Linked DNA regions of Homo sapiens: all the other regions are linked to region 3. Evidence: promoter capture Hi-C in 16 types of primary human blood cells and fetal thymus (Javierre and others, 2016). All regions are on one chromosome and are shown on one strand. The core of a region is centred on a gene start or on the middle of the fragment in contact, and the rest is flanking DNA. Distances in the headings are between cores, read along the strand shown.

Region 1 (3,837 bases), core at 1,114-3,613, 630 kb after region 3:
CAGCACTTTGGGAGGCTGAGACAGGTGGATCACCTGAGGTCAGGAGTTCAAGACCGGCCTGGCCAACATGGTGAAACCCCATCTCTACTGAAAACACAAAGTTAGCGGGCATGGTGGTGTGCACCTGTAATCCCAGCTACTCGGGAGGCTGAGGCAGGAGAATTGCTTGAACCCGGGAGGTGGAGGTTGCAGTGAGCTGAGATTGTGCCACTGCACTCCAGCCTGGGTGAGAGCAAGACTCCCTCTCAAAAAGAAAAACAAAAGGCGGGGGGAGGGGAGAAGCATGAATAATCCACCCTTTGTTTAGCACATCATCAGGAAATAACCATAAAAATGGGCAACCAGCAACCCTTGGTGCTGTGCTGTCTATGGAGTAGTCATTCTTTTTATTCCTCTACTGTCTTAATAAACTTTTTACTCTATGGACTCGCCCTGAATTATTTCTTGTGCGAGATCCAAGAACCCTCTCCTGAGGTCTGGGTCAGGACCCCTTTCCTGTAACAACATGGTCCTATCCCAGCTCCCTGTCTGATGTCACCTCACTCTGTTCCAGACTGACTCTTCTCCACCAAACACACCAAGCACACTCCCGCTCCAGGACCTTTGCAGTGGCTCTTCTGCTTGCAAGTCTTCTCCCCACAACCACGTGGCTCATTACCTCCTTTTCTTTGCCAAAAGAACTGCCCCAGCAAAGAGGCCTTTCCTAATAACTTTATGTAAAACAACACCTCGTCCCTTCATGCTTTGTCTGTAATGTGCTTTACTTTTCTTCATAGCACTAATCACCACCTGACATCATTTATATTTATTTGTTCACTTATCTTCTGTCTCCTTCACTAGAATCTGAGCTCCATGGGGGCAGGGATTCTTGTCCATGTTGTTTACTACTGTACCTCCGGTGCCGGCACATAGTAGGTGTTCAATAGGTATTTATGGGATGGATGACTCAAACCTTTCAGTGAATAAACAGTTCAGTGTTCTCATCAATCCATCCTGGTGCCCACCAAGCTAATAATATCACGGTAACAATGGCAGCTAATTTTACAGGAGCATTTCCTATGGGCCAGACCTTAGAAACGTTATCTCCTTACACAGGGCACTGCATTCACGCCTAGAACACTGAAATTTAGGTATAATCATGAGCTCAGAGGTCAGGCGACTTGCTCGAGGTCATAGGGGACGGCATCAGAAGAGGAACACAGACATTTAGCCTGACGGCAGAACTGTGTTCTAAAACCTCAAAGTCATAATTTGCCACACGCTGGAGAAAGAAAACAGTCGAAATGGAAGCCACCTGGCGAGCTCAGGGCGCCAGGTGGGAGCGCTGCTTCCCACATATGGGAGTCCGGCCCCATCGCTCTTTGATCTTTGCAGCGTCCGTGGCCCCACCGACCCCGTCGTGAGTTATGGGAGGCACGGGACCCATAACCCAGCATTCTCAGACTCCCAGGGTCGTCAGGACACGGCGCCCCGCGCGGTGATGGATGAGCCGGCCCCAGCGCTGGCTTTGTCCGGGTTGGGCCGGTCTGAGAAGCTTCAGGCCGGCTTTGGACGGGGCGTGGCGAGAGCCGCGCCGCGTGTGAGTGTGTGTGTGTGTGTGTTTGTGTGTGTGTGTATTGGGGCGGTTGTCTTTCTCCCTTCCCTACCGGGAAAGAGGGCACAGGTGCGCCGTCAGCGCCCCAGGTGAGCTGGTAGCACTTTGAAGACCCTTTGTACCCCTACATCCAGGAGCGACCTCTCGGAGAACCCCGCCTGCCCACTCTGCGCACTTTCTGCGGCTACAAAGGCCCCGCCGTTCCCCGTCCCGCCTCCCCCGCCCTGGGCATTTCTTCCGTCCCTTTTGACAGTCTAGGCGGAATAATCCTTTTGTGGCCCCGGGCCCCTGCCCTGACAGACGCGGCCGCAGCTGAGCGCGCAGCCTCGCTCCATTGTTGGGGTCCACCGAGGACCGCCCGCCGCGGCCCTTTGTCGCCCGCCCTGCGCGGGGCCGCTCCAGAGGCGCCACAACTGCCGGAGCCCCTCCCGTCCCACGCGCCCTGGGCCGCGCCGAGGCGGCTCTTACGCACCGGGAGGAGTGGGCCTGCCTCGCCCGGTGCCCGCACGGCTGCTGGGCTGCGCCCGCCTTTGTCTGCCTCCTTTGTCTGCCCCGCGCCCTCGCGGCGGCGGCGCCTAGGCCTCTGGGGAGCTGGCCCAGAACTCAGAGCGCAGCTGGCGAGGGCGCGCTGGCCGGGTGCGCGCCGGGCCCGGCCCCGGGGCTGCCCCTCGGCTGGGGGCAGTCGAGCCCGCCACCCGCCGCCCCTCCTCTGTCCCCTCCCCGCGCTCCCGCCCCCTTCCCTCCTGCCCGCCCACTCCCCCTTCCTTCCAGTCCCGCTCAGCCCGGGCACATCCTCCGGCTGCCCGCGCACCTCTCCACGCCGGCCCCGTTCCGCGGCTCGCCCTCGGCTGCGCTCGGCTCCCGCGGGCGCTCGGCCCCGAGCCCCTCCTCCCCCTACCCGCCGGCCGGACAGGTAAGGCACGGCCTCGGCCCGCCCCTGGCTCCGCCCCTCCCGCCCCACCTGGCTGCGAGCCCGGACAAAGGTGGGCTACCTGGCGCGCCCAGGGGCGGGGTGCGCGGGGTCCCGAGGCTGGAAGTGAGGATGCTGCCTCCTTCCCAGCCCTCGGACCCGTCTATCCGCCAGTCCTTCCGCCGCCTCCTCTCCTCGCCGCGTCTGCCCACGGACCCTGGCTCTGCTCCCGGGCTCCCCATCCGTCCACCTACCGCTGGACGCCCACTTTTCCACGCTCTGACACTCGGCCTCGCGCGCGCCCTCGCCGCCCTCTGGGGTCCCGGCTCGCACCTACTCTCCTCGGCACTAGCCTTCTCTCTCCCTGACCCAGTCTCCCTTTGTCTCTCTGTCTCTGAGTCTCCGGGTGGTCTCTCAGGCAGGGGGCCCCAGTCCGCCACCGTTGGAAGAAGTCTTCGAAGACTCCCTGAGCCCCGGGCAGAGCTGGCGGGCGTGCCCTCCAGCCCCTTTCGAGGCCGCCCAGGAGGCTGGGGTGTGTGGCCGGGGTCGCTGAGTGCGCCCGGAACCAGCACCGCCGGTGGCCCCGCGCCGTCCCATCTGTGCCCAGGAAGGTACTCAGCCTGGCTCCCCCGACGGCGCTGGTCTTTCGCCTGTGGTCTCCCGCTCTGTCCCTCCTGCTCCCCACCGCCGGCTTTTGGCTTTTCTCCGTCCGCTCGTCAAGGGTCTCAGCCGCCTTCGGGGCCGGGGTATGAGATGAGAGAGGGCTGGGGTTTCCCGCCAAGTCTTTCTTGCTTTCCTCAGCTGGGTGCTCCCTGGGCCATCCTCTCCGCCCGGTGGTCTCCCCTGCCCTATATGCTCCCTCCACGCTGCCCACCTCCCAGCCCAGTGACACACTGGTGTCTGGAACCGGTTCAGTACTATGCATCTGGAGTCGGGTACACTGGGGCTCTGGGAGTGATCTCGGACAAAGGAATGCACCTCTCTGAGCCTCAGTGTTCCTGTCACAAAACAGGGATGGTGCTAGTCCCTACCTATAGGGATGTGTGTGGAAATTGTGGGGTGCCGCTTGGTGCTGGTTCACACACCCTGTGGAGGAAGGGAGGGGAGGGGAGGGGAGTCTACAGACCTGGGATGGGGTGGGGACAGGGGGCTCCACAGAAATGGATCTCAAAGTCAAGGCTTAGAGACACTTCAGAGTAACCCCACCACCACAGCCTCTTCCCCCATCACACTTCCTGTCACCTTCACCTCCTCGTGCCCATACAGGCGTCCACACCCTTGCAAGCACTCTTCTCTTTCTCTCTCTCCTCCTCTTTGCTTGTCCTAAAATCAG
Region 2 (4,207 bases), core at 1,616-4,115, 860 kb after region 3:
AGGGCAGCAGAAGAGTGAGGTGTTGTGCCTTAATGATAAAGACAGTGGTGCCCATCTCCCTAAAGTATAGAAGAAAGTCAGCCTGTCTTGTTTACACGACCAACTTGAGCCTGTGGGCCTGAAATCTAGAATCCTGTTAAAAAGCAGCGGGGCCTGGTGCCAGAGCCCAGAGGAACACAGACTTAGCCAGGACTTGGCACCAACCCTATGGTCAGACATCCTGCGCCAGATCAGTCACCAGTGCTGAGGCCAGTCTCAGGCCACTTCTCCTCTCTGTCCTTTCTCTCTCCAGTCTTGTAGCTTTATGTATGTATGTATTTATTTGTTTATTGAGACAGAGTCTCACTGTGTTGCCCAGGCTTGAGTGCAGTGGAACGATCTCAGGTTACTACAGCCTCCGCCTCCCGGGTTCAAGTGATTCTCCCGTCTCAGCCTTTGAGTAGCTGGGACTACAGGTGCAGGCCACCACCCATGCCTAAAACAGCCCTGGCAGAAGCATTCAATAGACACTTGCTGAATAAACACGTGCTGGGCCCCTTTGCTACTGATGGATTCAACAGCCCTAAGATTTAAAAACATACACACACACAACTTTGTTTCTGTGAAGATGACCATCCTCTCGCCGGGCGCGGTGGCTCACGCCTGTAATCCCAGCACTTTGGGAGGCCAAGGTGGACGGATCATGAGGTCAGGTTAAGTTTTGTATTTTTAGTAGAGACAAGGTTTCGCCACGTTGGCCAGGTTGGCTTGAACTCCTGACCTCAGGTGATCCACCTGCCTCAGCCTCCCAAAGTGCTGGGATTACAGCGTGAGCCACCGCGCCCAGCCAGCACATTCTAGCCTAAAAAGATGCCTTATTTTAATTTTAATTTTCACTTTTCTAATGTCTGTCTTCCTCCCAACCAGAATTTAAGCAAGCACCATGAGAACAGGAACTCTGGTTCCCATCTGCACCCCCCCATGCATAGAACAGCCCTGGCAGAAGCATTCAATAGATACTTGCTGAATGAACTCAACTCTCTGAGCAACCAAACACAAAGGTTCAGACAATTGGAACCCTGGAAACCAAAACCCCTCTCTCATCCAGAACAGGATTTTCTTTTCTTTAACAGTCAACGAGAGGAGAGTTTTCATCGGGCGGGAGCATCTCAACCTGCTAAAAGGGATTCTCCAACCTCCCTGTGAACCAGTTGCAGCCACAACTGCCAGGACGCACCTCAGCCTAGCAGGGGTTATGTCAAGAAGCCCACGTCTGTCACCAGGCCGACTGCGGTGCTGAGCAAAGAATCAGGGGATCCACCTGCTGGTTTCACCTCTGCAAACTGACTCTAAAACACTTCACTCTGCTCACATCAGGCCCCATCTACCAAAACAAGTAACAGAAAGAATTGACCTTTACACTCAATTGTCCACTACAGTCTCATAAAAACCTTCTGAGGTAGGCGTTATTGTTATTAAATACAGGCCCAGAGAGATTAGGCGACGAATCCAAAGGTCGCACAGACACTAAGCAGTTGAGCAGATTCAACCACTGGTGAAACGCCAAGCCCAAGTTTCAACCACCCCACCATCACCTTCAGTGTCACCTCTGCAGACTTGGGAGGGACATATCTAGGGTGGACCAAGCGCTGGCCAGGACTCACCTGGGCTGAAGAGCTGAGCCCAGAGGAGCTGGTGGTCTTGAAGCAGCTCCGCCGCTGGCATGTCCAAGAGCTCCAGCATTTCCTTCCGTGCCAAGTCCTGCAGCGCCTTGAGCTCCTTGGCTGCTTTGCTTTTGAGCACCTGGGGGTTAATGGGGCCAGAGACGTGCACCACCCACAGCACCGTCTCATCCAGCTGCGTCTTGGGAGCCACTTGGAGGCGGTTCACCAGCTTCTTGGCGGCCACCACCACCAGGTGCACCAACCCAGTGGGCGTAGGCGGGGACCGGCCTGAGTAGAGGAGGAACTGATGGTCTCCGACCTTCTCCAGGGTACTGGTGAAGGCCTTGGGGGCTGGGCCGGCAGTGGGCCCCACAGTCTGCAGCGCGGCCACGCGCTCCGTGGGGTTGTTGAGCTGGATGCGCTGCAGGTAGACGTGGGGTCGGCCCCTGTGCGCCAGAAAGTCCTCTTGCAGCAGCACGCAGTCGCGGCCGGACCCCGCGGCAAGGCCAGAGACGGAGGCGGGCCCGGGGCCGGCGGCCACGGGGCCAGGACCTGGGGACCCCAGCTGCAGGCAACGCACGCGGCGCAGAAGCCCCTCCCGCAGCAGCAGCACCGCCTCTCCAGCTTCAGCCAGCGCGCTCAGCGGGCGCAGCTGCACGAAGGGCACAAAGTCCGGCGCCACGGCGGGCTCCCGCTCCCCGGGAGTCACCCACAGCCGATTGGCAGCCACGTCCAGGGCCAGGAAGCCGTTGGCCACCAGGGCCGGCACTCCAGGACCCAGCGGTACCACCTCACCGCGCTCCCGCAGGCCGCGCCAGGCGCGGGTGGCCGCCTCCAGGCAGGCAGACGGCTCGGCGGCGCCCGGCTCACCGCGGGACCAGGGCAGCAGGTGCAGGCCGCCCGCCGCCCGCCGCGCGCCGGACCCCCCAAACCACAGAAGCAGCAGCAGGAGGCCAAGCAGGCAGAGGAGGCGGCGGGCCCAGCTGCTCGACAGCAGTCCCGGCAGCCCCTTGAGCCGCTGCTGCAGCCACATCGGGCCGCCAGGCGCGGGCAAGGGTGCGAGGGCGGCCGCCGGGCCCGCCGCCCAGCCCACCGGCCCGGCCGCCCGCGCCTCACTGCCCGGCCCGGACCGCGGCGCCCACCCCGGCCCCCGCCGCAACCGCCGCAGCAGCCGCCACCCCTGCTTCCTCCTTCTTCTCGGTGGCCTCCAGCCGTCAAACGACGCCGGCGGTCAAGCGTCGCCGTGTCTTTTACGACAGATGGAAAACGGGAGGGCGGAGGGAGGAGAGAGAGCAGGCCGGAGAGAAGGGGGCGGAGCCACGGCGAGGGCGGGACAAAAGCTGCCGGGGGCGGGACCACTCGTTCCCAGGCCGGAAGAGTGAAGTCCAGTGGAGTTAAGTGCAGGGGTCTGGGGAGGACTGGAAGCATCCAATTCACTCGTGAAAAAAACATCGAGCCAGCCAAACCGAACACGTGTTGGGCCCCTTTGCTACTGATGGATTCAACAGCCCCAAAATTTAAAAACATACACACACACACACACAACAACTTTGTTTCTGTAAAAATGACCATCCTCTCGCCGCGCGCGGTGGCTCACGCCTGTAATCCCAGCACTTTGGGAGGCCAAGGCGGGCGGATCACGAGGTCAGCAGTTTGAGACCAGCCTGACCAACATGGTGAAACCCCATCTCTACTAAAAATACAAAAACTAGCCGGGCGTGGTGGCGCATGCCTGTAATCCCTGCTCCTCAGGAGGCTGAGGTAGGAGAACTGCTTGAACCCGTGAGGCGGAGGTTGCAGGCTTGCAGTGAGCCGAGATCACGCCACTGCACTCCAGCCTGGGCGACAGAGTGAGACTCTGTCTCAAAAAAAAAAAAAAAAAAAAAGACTATCCTCACTGCAAAAAAACACTTGGAACAATACGAAAAAGTGGAGGAAAAAAAAAGGAGAGAGAAGAAGAGGAAGAAAGAAGAAGAAAGGAAAAGGGAGGAGGAGGGGAAGGGGAACCACCAGAGGCCAGGAGTGGTGGCTCACGTCTGTAATTCCAGCACTTTAGGAGGCTGAGATGGGCAAATCACTTGAGGTCAGGAGTTCGAAACCAGCCTGACCAACATGGTGAAAACCTGTCTCTACTAAAAATACAAAAATTAGGCTGGGCACGGTGGCTCACGCCTGTAATCCCAGCATTTTGGGAGGCCGAGGCCGCCAGATCACGAGATCAGGAGATCGAGACCATCCTGGCTAACACGGTGAAACCCTGTCTCTACTAAAAATATAAAAAATTAGCCAGGCGTGGTGGCAGGCGCCTGTAGTCCCAGCTACTCGGGAGGCTGAGGCAGGAGAATGGCGTGAACCCGGGAGGCGGTGCTTGCAGTGAGCCAAGATCGCGCCACTGCACTCCAGCCTGGGTGACAGAGGGAGACTCTGTCTCAAAAAAAAAAAAATAAATAAATAAAAATAAAAAAATAAAAATGCAAAAATTAGCTGGGCGTGGTGGTGGGCGCCTGTAATCCCAGCTACTTGAGAGACTGAGGCACGAGAATCGCTTGAACCAGGGAGGCAGA
Region 3 (4,463 bases), core at 68-2,567:
GTGTCTGTCACGAGAGGCTTGTTAAGCAGTTAGCACTTGAGTCATTTTTCTACACTTCCATTCAGCCAGGCAGACAGCTGTGGTTATGAGTGGGAACAATTTTGGCCATTATGTGGTGTGGCTTGGTTGAAAATGCTTATGGCAAGCTGCCTAAGGCACCGCAAACAGCAGCATGCCTCCTTGAGCACACAGTCCTTCTGCTCATAAATTCTCTCTCTACCTCCAACCTGGCCAGCCCTGCCAGATCCCTTTCCCTTCCTCTTGGAGCACAGGCCCAGCCATGGCCTCCACTACTCAGTCACTGCACAGTTCCTGACCCACACATACCCCTCTATGTGCTCACCATCCTCCTTAGTCCTGTCCCAGGTGCTCCCCAAGTGACCTGACATTGAGCTCCAGCTGTTGTTCTTTGAACACCCAAGACCCTCATCTCCACCCCATGGCTGAGGAGTTCTGGATTTGGGGTTTGATGGACCAGTAAACCTCTGCAGACACCATCTAGGGACTGACACTGGGTTGCGAACTTTTTATTTTGCAAGATTGAATATTTGAAAACAACTCAAACTCCTGTCTAAGGTTCCTGTCTTTTAAAAAACAAACAGAAGGCCAGGCACAGTGGCTCACGCCTGTAATCCCAGCACTTTGGGAGGCCAAGGTGGGTGGATTACCTGAGGTCAGGAGTTCAGGACCAGCCTGGCCAACGTGGTGAAACTCCATCTCTACTAAAAGTACAAAAATTAGCCAGGCGTGGTGGTGGGCACCTCTAATCCCAGCTACTTGGGAGGCTGAGGCAGGAGAATTTCTTGAACCCAGGAGATGGAGATTGCAGTGAGCGAAGATCATGCCATTGCACTCCAGCCTGAACGCCAGAGGGAGACTCTGCCTCAAAAAACAAACAAACCAACAAACAAACAAACAGAAAAACATTGTCACACAGACAAAACCAATATGGAAAACTTCCAAAGAAAGGGTGCGGCATCACTTTAACGGGTGAGCACAGCGGCCCTGGCAGCCTCCAGGCTCTAGGTGGCACTGGATTCTTTCTGACAAGTCCTCATCTGGGCTGTCAGAGACCTCCGCTTTGAGCTGCGCTGCCATAGAGCTCTCTGGAAGTCCCTTGCTCCTCAGGGTCCAGTCCGAATGCGCCTTTCACGAGGCCTCTCAGGCCATCCTCAGGAGAAAATAATTTCTCACTTTGGCCAGGCGTCGTGGCTCACGCCTTGCAATCCCAGCACTTTGGAAGGCTGAGGTGGGCGGATCACTTGAGGTCAGGAGTTCAAGACCAGTCTGGCCAACATGGTACAACCCCGTCTCCACTAATTAGCTGGGTGTGGTGGTGGGCGCCTGTAATCCCAGCTACGTGGGAGGCTGAGGCAGGAGAATTGCTTGAACCCGAGAGGCAGAGGTTGCAGTGAGCTGAGATCGTACCACTGCACTCCAGCCTGGGTGACAAGAGCGAGACTGTCTCAAAAAAAAAAAAAAAAAAAAAATTCCACCTGTGAGGCCGGGCACAGTGGCTCACGCCTGTAATCCCAGCACTTTGGGAGGCTGAGGTGAGTGGATCACCTGAGGTCAGGAGTTCGAGACCAGCCTGACCAACATGGTGAAACCTTGTCTGTACTTAAAAATACAAAAATAAGCCGGGCGTGATGGCAGGCGCCTGTAATCCCAACTCCTTGGGAGGCTGAGGCAGGACAACTGCTTGAATCCAGGAGGTGGAGGTTGCAGTGAGCCGAGATTGTGCCGTGCCATTGCACTTCAGCCTGGGCAACAAGAGCGAAACTCCGTCTCAGGAAAAAAAAAAAAAAAAAATTCCGCTTGTCAATTTTTTATAGCAGAGACTGCCATTTTTAGGCAGTGACTGTTCTTTGTCCTTCGATGTCTGTTCTTCCCAAATTCTATAGTAGAACCCTGGGCTTTTAGTTGGACACACGGATGACTGAAATAATGATATTTCCTAGTACCCCTTGCTGTGGTCTTGTGACTAAGTTCTGACCAATGGGAAGTTGAAATGGGCAGTATCCTATTCAAAGAGATTGGGTGCTGTTCTTTCCTCCTTCCAGCAGACTGGAATGAGAATGTAATGGCTGGAGCAAGGGCAGTCACCCTGCACCATGAGGCGGCAGCCTTGTGTTTGAGCTGAGGATGGTAAAACAAGATAGGAGCCTGTGTCTGATGATCATGAGCATCACACTAGCTCTGGGCCAACTATGTTTACAAAAGAGGAGGAAAATCATCTCTCTTGTTAAAAGTCACTATAGTTTGGCTTTTCTGTCATTTTCAACCAGTCTAGTCCTAGCTAAAACAAACTCCAGCCTATCTTAGGACAGGGCTGTTCTCTGCTGTTCAAGAGTGGGAGCTCTCTGACGGCAGTGATGTGTGATTTGGCTTGGTACCCCCCAAAGGTTATCATATACAGTTGGCAATCTCAATACTTTGTGGGATGAATTTCAAAGAAAAAAGGTTTCTAGGTTAAGTATTTGTAAAAACCAAAGTAATGGCATTTTGTGCTTTCCTGATTTATTAGCCCATCTCAGGATTAAAATAAAATGAAGTTCTAAAGAAATTATCAGAGACTGGGTCACAAATTTATATAAAAGTTTAGTGAGTGCTGCATTATTAAGAATAGTACCAAAAATGAAAACCTAAGCGTTTAACAATGGGGGTTGGCGAAAATAAATTTTAGATTGAGAAAAGTGTCATAACACAAACTTTCAAGGTGACAAATGATAGAAACCTGAACCCAAGATATATTTTAAAAATATATCTATATACACATAGCGAAAGCTTATAAGGAAATACAGCAAAATGTTAATCTCAGCTGGGTGTGGTGGCTCATGCCTGAAATCCCAACACTGGCAGGACAAGACAGGAGGATTGCTTGAGGCCAGGAGTTCAAGACCAGCCTGGGCAACACAGCAAGACCCCATCTCTATAAAACATAAGAAAAATTACCCAGGTGTGGTGGCATGTGCCTGGGAGGTCAAGGCTGCAGTGAGCTAGGATCACACTACTGCACTCCAGAATGGGCAACAGAGTGAGACCCTGTCTCAAAAAAAGGAAAAAAGCATCTTTGTGTGACAGGACTACAAATGATTAAAATTTTCTCTTTGCATTTGCCTTTTTTTTTGAGACAGAGTCTTGCTCTACTGCCCAGGCTCAAATGAGGTGGCGTGATCTCGGCTCACTGCAACCTCCGCCTCCTAGGTTCAAGCGATTCTCCTGCCTCAGCCTCCTGAGTAGCTGGGATTACAGGCGTCCACCACCATGCCCGGCTAATTTTTTGTATTTTTAGTAGAGAAAGGCTTTCACCGTGTTGGCCAGCATGGTCTCGATCTCCTGACCTCGTGATCCGCCTGCCTCAGCCTCCCAAAGTGCTGGGATTGCAGGCGTGAGCCACCGCACCCGGCCGGCTCTGGATTTTTCTAGAAGTCACCATAACCCCCGGAGCACACTCACCTGCCCACAGACAGCTGAAGATGGTTGCCTGAACAGGATGGCAACCTGCCAGAGCTGTGGCGGCAACAAAATAAAAGTCAGGAATCAGCTTTCTTCAGGAAGAATTTTAATGGTTTAAAAATATGTATGTACAAAAGCAGCACCAGCATTTGGTGCTTCCGGTCCACAGGCGCCACGTGTCTTCCAGGACTATCTCTGTGGCCAGTTGTACCTGAAGCCTCTGCAGAGAGTACAAAAACAACAGTTATTTCTTCCGGGCTGGTTGGATGTTCTCAGATGGTTTACAAAATGGTGCAAATCTTAATCATGCAGAACAGAGGAAGAATGGTTTGCTCAGGGGCCCCAGAGAACTCGGCGGCCCACCAGAGTTGGCTGAGCTGAGCAGCATCTTGAGAAGGCAGACCTGTTTTTCCTGCCCTCGGGCAAGTCCCCTGACCTCAGGGTCGGCTTAATTATTAGGATTTTATGTTTTTAACAAAAACATTTGGCTGGGTGCAGTGGCTCACACCTGTAATCCCAGTACTCTGGGAGGCCAAGGCGGGAGGATCAATTGAGGCCAGGAGTTTGAGACCAGCCTGGCCAACATGGCAAAACCCCATCTCTACTAAAAATACAAAAACAGGCCGGGCGCGGTGGCTCACGCCTGTAACCCCAGCACTGTGGGAGGCCGAGGCGGGCGGATCACAAGGTCAGGAGATCGAGACCATCCTGGCTAACATGGTGAAACCCCGTCTCTACTAAAAAATACAAAAAATTAGCCGGGCATCATGGCGGGCGCCTGTGGTCCCAGCTACTCGAGAGGCTGAGGCAGGAGAATGGCGTGAACCCGGGAGGCGCAGCTTGCAGTGAGCAGAGATCGTGCCACTGCACTCCAGCCTGGGCGACAGACCGAGACTCCATCTCAAAGAAGAAAAAAAAAAAAAACATTAGCCGGGCATGATGGCAGGCACCTGTAATCCCAGCTACTCGGGAGGCTGAGGTGAGAGACTTGCTTGAACCCAGGA
Region 4 (4,315 bases), core at 987-3,486, 920 kb after region 3:
CTACTAAAAATACAAAAATTAGCCAGGCATGGTGGTGCACGCCTGTAATCCCAGCTAGTGGGGAGACTGAGGCGGGAGAATTGCCTGAGGCGGAGGTTGCGGTGAGCCAAGATGGTGCCACTGAGCTCCAGTCTGGGCAACAGAGTGAGAGCGAGACTCTTTCTCAAAAAAAAAGAAAAAAAAAAAAAAAGAGGAAATGGAATTTATAGTTCCTGCCCTCAGAGAATGGAAGTGGAATTTAGAGTTCCTCTCCTTAGGGAGTCCAGAGATTGTGGAGGAGGAAACAATCCGACCCAGTACCAGGCAGCTAGCAGCTGAGGCCCCAAGGCACGCTACATCCCAGACAGGGCCCTGTCTACACCCTGAGGCTGAGTCTGCGTGTGGCCCCACAGTCCACAGTCAGACCCGCGGGGCACTAGGCTACTCAGAGGGCAGTGTGGGCAGGACAGCTCCCTTTGGCCATCGTCATGAGACTGATAAACCAGTCACTTCTATATCAGAGTACTGATTTGCCTCTTGAGGTTGTTTGTGGCAATAAATTGAGGTTGTTCTACCATGGTTATAGAGCAGCACCATCCCACAGAATTACAGTTTGACCCACAAATGCAAGCTACTTATGTAATTTTAAATTTTCTAGTAGCGACATTTTTAAAAAGAAACAGGTGCAATTAATCTTAGTAATGTATTTAACCCAAATGACCCAAAATATTATCACTTCAACATGTAGTCAGCATATAAATAGTAATGGGCTAATAGCCCTGCACTGTGGCAGGTACCTGTAACCCGGCATTTTGGGAAGCCGAGGCAGGAGAAGATTGCTTGACTCCAGGAGTCCAGGAGTTCAGGACACCAGCCTGGGTAACAAAGTGAAATGCTTCCCCATGTCTACAAAAGATAAATACTAGGCATGGCTGCAGCATCTGTGGTCAGCTACTTGGGAGGCTGAGTGAGGTGGGAGGATTACTTGAGCCCAGGAGTTCGAGGCTGCAGTGAGCCGTGATTGCACCACTGCACTCCAGCTTGAGTGAGAGTGAGACTCTGGCTCAAAGATAGATTTTTTTTTTCTTTTTTGAGACGGAGTCTCTGTTGCCCAGGCTGGAGTGCAGTGGCATGATCTCGGCTCACTGCAACCTCCACCGCCCGTGTTCAAGCGATTCTCCTGCCTCTTCCTCCCGAGTGCACTATCATGCCTGGCTAATTTTTGTATTTTTAGTACAGACGGGGTTTCACCATGTTGGCCAGGCTGGTCTTGAACTCCCGATGCACCCGCCTCGCCCTCCTAAAATGCTGGAATTACAGGCTTGAGCCACCGCGCCCGGTCGATATTTTTTTTTCCTAAAAATTGAGATAGTTTAACAGCCTTTTTTGTCCTAAGTCTTATAGCGCATCTCCGTTTGCACTGGCTCAGGACTCGAGAGCCACACGTGGCTAGTGCCTACTGTTCTGGCGCGCTCAGGCTTGGAGCCTTCTCTGCGGAGGCCAAGTCCTGCAAGGGATCTGTTTGCTGCGGTTTCCTAGTAGTGTCTGCCGCATCACTGGGGCCCGGTGATCTGGGTAACCATGTGAGCTTGGGTAACCTCTCCTCTCCCTCTCCTGGGACTGCTGTGGACGTTAAATACAGCGGTGGATGTTAGAGACGCAGTTCAGTCACTGGCATTGATTCGCCGTTGTTGCTGCTCTTCTTTCCTCAAAGGCGACTGAAGGGCAGCAGGCCCATGCTCGCTTCTGTCTGCCCGATGAGTCACTTCACCCTAGGCCTGGCCCTCTAGAGAACACTCCTCTAAGATTACAGAATGCAAATCTGGATTCCAGAGCTGGCAGAGGCCCCAGGGTCAGGCTCTAGGACAACCGGCGAAAAAGCGGGAACCTCTACTCCACGCCCTTGGTTTTTCGCCCCTTGACAGCTTGAGGCTCCGCCCCGCTTTGCCCCGCCCCCCCAGCTCCGGCCGACGCCCACCGGAACTACAGCCCCCATGATGCAGTGGGAGTCCGAGCCTCTGCGTCGTCCGCTTGGGACGCGCCGGCGGAGGAGTGGCGCGCGGAGGAGTGGCGCGCTGAGACGCCGCTCGAAGCGCCGAGTCGCGGGGCAGCAGAGGCGTAAGGAGTAGGCGGGGCGAGCCGGCTGGGCTCAGGGTCCACCAGCTCACCCGGGTCGAGGGGCAATCTGAGGCGACTGGTGACGCGCTTATCCACTTCCCTCCTCCCGCCTCCCCCTGGGGTGGCGCTCGCTGGTGACGTAGTGAGTGTGATGGCCGCCGCGAGGCCGGGAAGGTGAAGGTGAGAGGGCGAGCAAGCCGGGGTGGCGGGGACTGGCCCGGCCCGGCCCGGCGAGTCCTGAGCAGCTCGGCGTGGGCCGACGGGATTCTGGGGCCACGGGGGTCTGGGATGCAGTCAAGCGGGGTCCCCACTCTCCGGCCTCGCCGCCGGGCCCTCCCCGGCCCTGAGAGGAGGGGGCGGGCCACGGGACCTGGGACTGGTCGGTGGGGTCCCCTGTAGCTTCTCATCGCCCCCGCCTTTCCACCCTTCACGGCCATGTTCTACCCCTGCCCCTTCTCTATTTTTCATCCTGTCTTCATTTTGCCAGCATTTACTCAGCACCTGATAGGTGTCCACGTTCACCGCGGGAGCGCCCTGCCATCCCCACTTTGGGCAGTTACTGCCTTCTCGTTCAGCCCTGTTTACTTATATGACTTCTCACCGGACTGTAAGGCCCTGGAGGGCAGGACTGTTTCTTATCCATTTCTAACGTGGCGCCTGACACACACAGAGAAGGCACACAGAAAATGTTGAATAAATAGCTGTTAAGACGCACGAAGGCAGAACTGCCCGTTACCCCCTCTCGTAATCCTTCATTGCCCTCTTTAAATTCTCAATCATCTCTCTCTCTTCTACCCAGAAAAGGGCTCTGGTTATCTCTTTTCTACCCAGAAAAGGGCTCTGGTTATCCGCCTCTGGTGTCCCAAGGTTTGGGGCTTGGGGGAGGAAGGCAGCTCAATGTAGTTAAAAAAGGAAGGAGGCCGGTCGCAGTGGATCACACCTGTAATCCCAGCACTTTGGGAGGCTGAGGCGGGCGGATCACCTGAGGTCAGGAGTTGGAGACCAGCCTGGCCAACATGGTGAAACCCCGTCTGTGCTAAAACCAAAAACTAGCCGGGCTTGCTGGCACACGCCTGTAATCCCATCTACTCAGGAGGCTGAGGCAGGAGAATCGCTTGAACCCGGGAGGCGGAGGTTGAGCCGAGATCGCGCTGCTGCACTCCAGGAGCTTTGGAGTCAAAGGGAGCTAATATTTCAGATCCCAGCTTAGACAAATCTTCAAGTATTCCAGCCCTCTGTCCCACAGAATAGAGAATTAAGTGAGATACTTTACAGTAGCTGAACACATTGGCTTTCAGTCAGTTCTTCTGTTCCTCAATAGTCAGCTGTTCCACAGTCCTCAAGCCCAGTTTTGTTCCTAGTTTTGCTCTGTCCTCTTCTCCCCTCTCTGGATGTACCTTTCCCAGGGCTCCTGCAGGGACCTCCGTGGTGCCTCAAACCCGCACATGGCGGAATACGTGTGCACAGTCAGGATTGGTCCCACACCTCTGCGTTTTTTTCCCCAGGGCACTTCCTCACATGCCAGCGCAACTCCCCAATACCTCAATGAGTAAGCTTCCCTCAGGGATGAGTTTGTTTGGCTTGAAACCTGATTAGACATGTTTTGTACACCAGTGTTTTTTTTTTTTGGACACCGGATCCATCTCCCTTTTCTTTTCTAATAAGTCAGGACTGGTGGAGTCAACACAGTCAATCAATAGCCAACCTCAACCTGAGACAGGACAGAAGAGAACTCAGAATCTTTTTGTCTTTTGGACTTCAGCCATGTCCATGATGCCTACCCTGTGAAGATCTCTCACCATCCAAAAAAGTAAGTAGTAGCTGTGACTTCTGGCACCCTGGATTTGAGCTGAGTGGACAGGGGTGTGCTCTCCTGGACCTCTGGTGGCAAGTCTCTTGAATGGCATCCTCTTTGTATAGAGCCACAGCTTTCTAACTTGTGTTGAAAAACTACCGTATCTTTTACTTCCGTGAAGGATTTCGCTGGTTGCTTAGAGAGCCTGTTTAAAAGTTGACAGTTCAGAAGTGGCTGGGATCTCTTGGGCTCCCTGAAGAGTTAGTCTCTGTCTCCCTCATTTGGTCTCTGCTGTGCTGGCTCTTCCCCATCTCGGCCCAGCACAGGTTGGCTCCTTGTCACTGCTCTTTTAAGACTCTGCTCTGTCCCCTTTACCCTGTATACTCTTTTTGTTTCGATTTCTCAGCTTCTCCTCTTTTCCAG

The links. The method cuts DNA at HindIII sites, captures the fragments that hold promoters and counts their contacts. A CHiCAGO score of 5 or more calls a contact.
Region 1: a contact is called between the fragment with the promoter of DRAXIN here and a fragment that was not itself captured in region 3, in 2 of 17 cell types (naive B cells and M0 macrophages). The highest score is 6.4, in naive B cells.
Region 2: a contact is called between the fragment with the promoter of KIAA2013 here and a fragment that was not itself captured in region 3, in 4 of 17 cell types (naive B cells, total B cells, monocytes and 1 more). The highest score is 7.4, in naive B cells.
Region 4: a contact is called between the fragment with the promoter of MFN2 here and a fragment that was not itself captured in region 3, in 5 of 17 cell types (total B cells, naive B cells, naive CD4 T cells and 2 more). The highest score is 13.4, in total B cells.

Annotation. Positions count from the first base shown.
Region 1 is chr1:11,689,347-11,693,183 of GRCh38, forward strand. It overlaps DRAXIN (dorsal inhibitory axon guidance protein), which reads left to right and starts at 2,364. Exons shown (of 7, transcript NM_198545.4): 1 at 2,364-2,507. It also overlaps a transcript of MAD2L2 not described here. RefSeq lists enhancers at 662-1,171, 1,172-1,679. The HindIII fragment of the contact is 12,625 bases long and covers 1,533-3,837 here.
Region 2 is chr1:11,923,562-11,927,768 of GRCh38, forward strand. KIAA2013 reads right to left here and starts at 2,866. Exons shown (of 3, transcript NM_138346.3): 1 at 1,644-2,866. The coding sequence starts at 2,676. RefSeq lists enhancers at 1,810-2,472, 2,473-3,136, 2,791-3,085 and a silencer at 2,721-2,790. The HindIII fragment of the contact is 9,969 bases long and covers 1-4,207 here.
Region 3 is chr1:11,063,070-11,067,532 of GRCh38, forward strand. It overlaps EXOSC10 (exosome component 10), which reads right to left. Exons shown (of 25, transcript NM_001001998.3): 25 at 3,549-3,679. The coding sequence ends at 3,649. Among named protein-coding and RNA genes, the nearest start is that of SRM, 5.3 kb to the left of the region's middle. RefSeq lists an enhancer at 307-386. The HindIII fragment of the contact is 2,936 bases long and covers 1-2,785 here.
Region 4 is chr1:11,978,208-11,982,522 of GRCh38, forward strand. It overlaps MFN2 (mitofusin 2), which reads left to right and starts at 2,237. Exons shown (of 19, transcript NM_014874.4): 1 at 2,237-2,277; 2 at 3,763-3,907. RefSeq lists silencers at 1,853-2,112, 2,283-2,522 and an enhancer at 3,979-4,078. The HindIII fragment of the contact is 7,841 bases long and covers 1-3,649 here.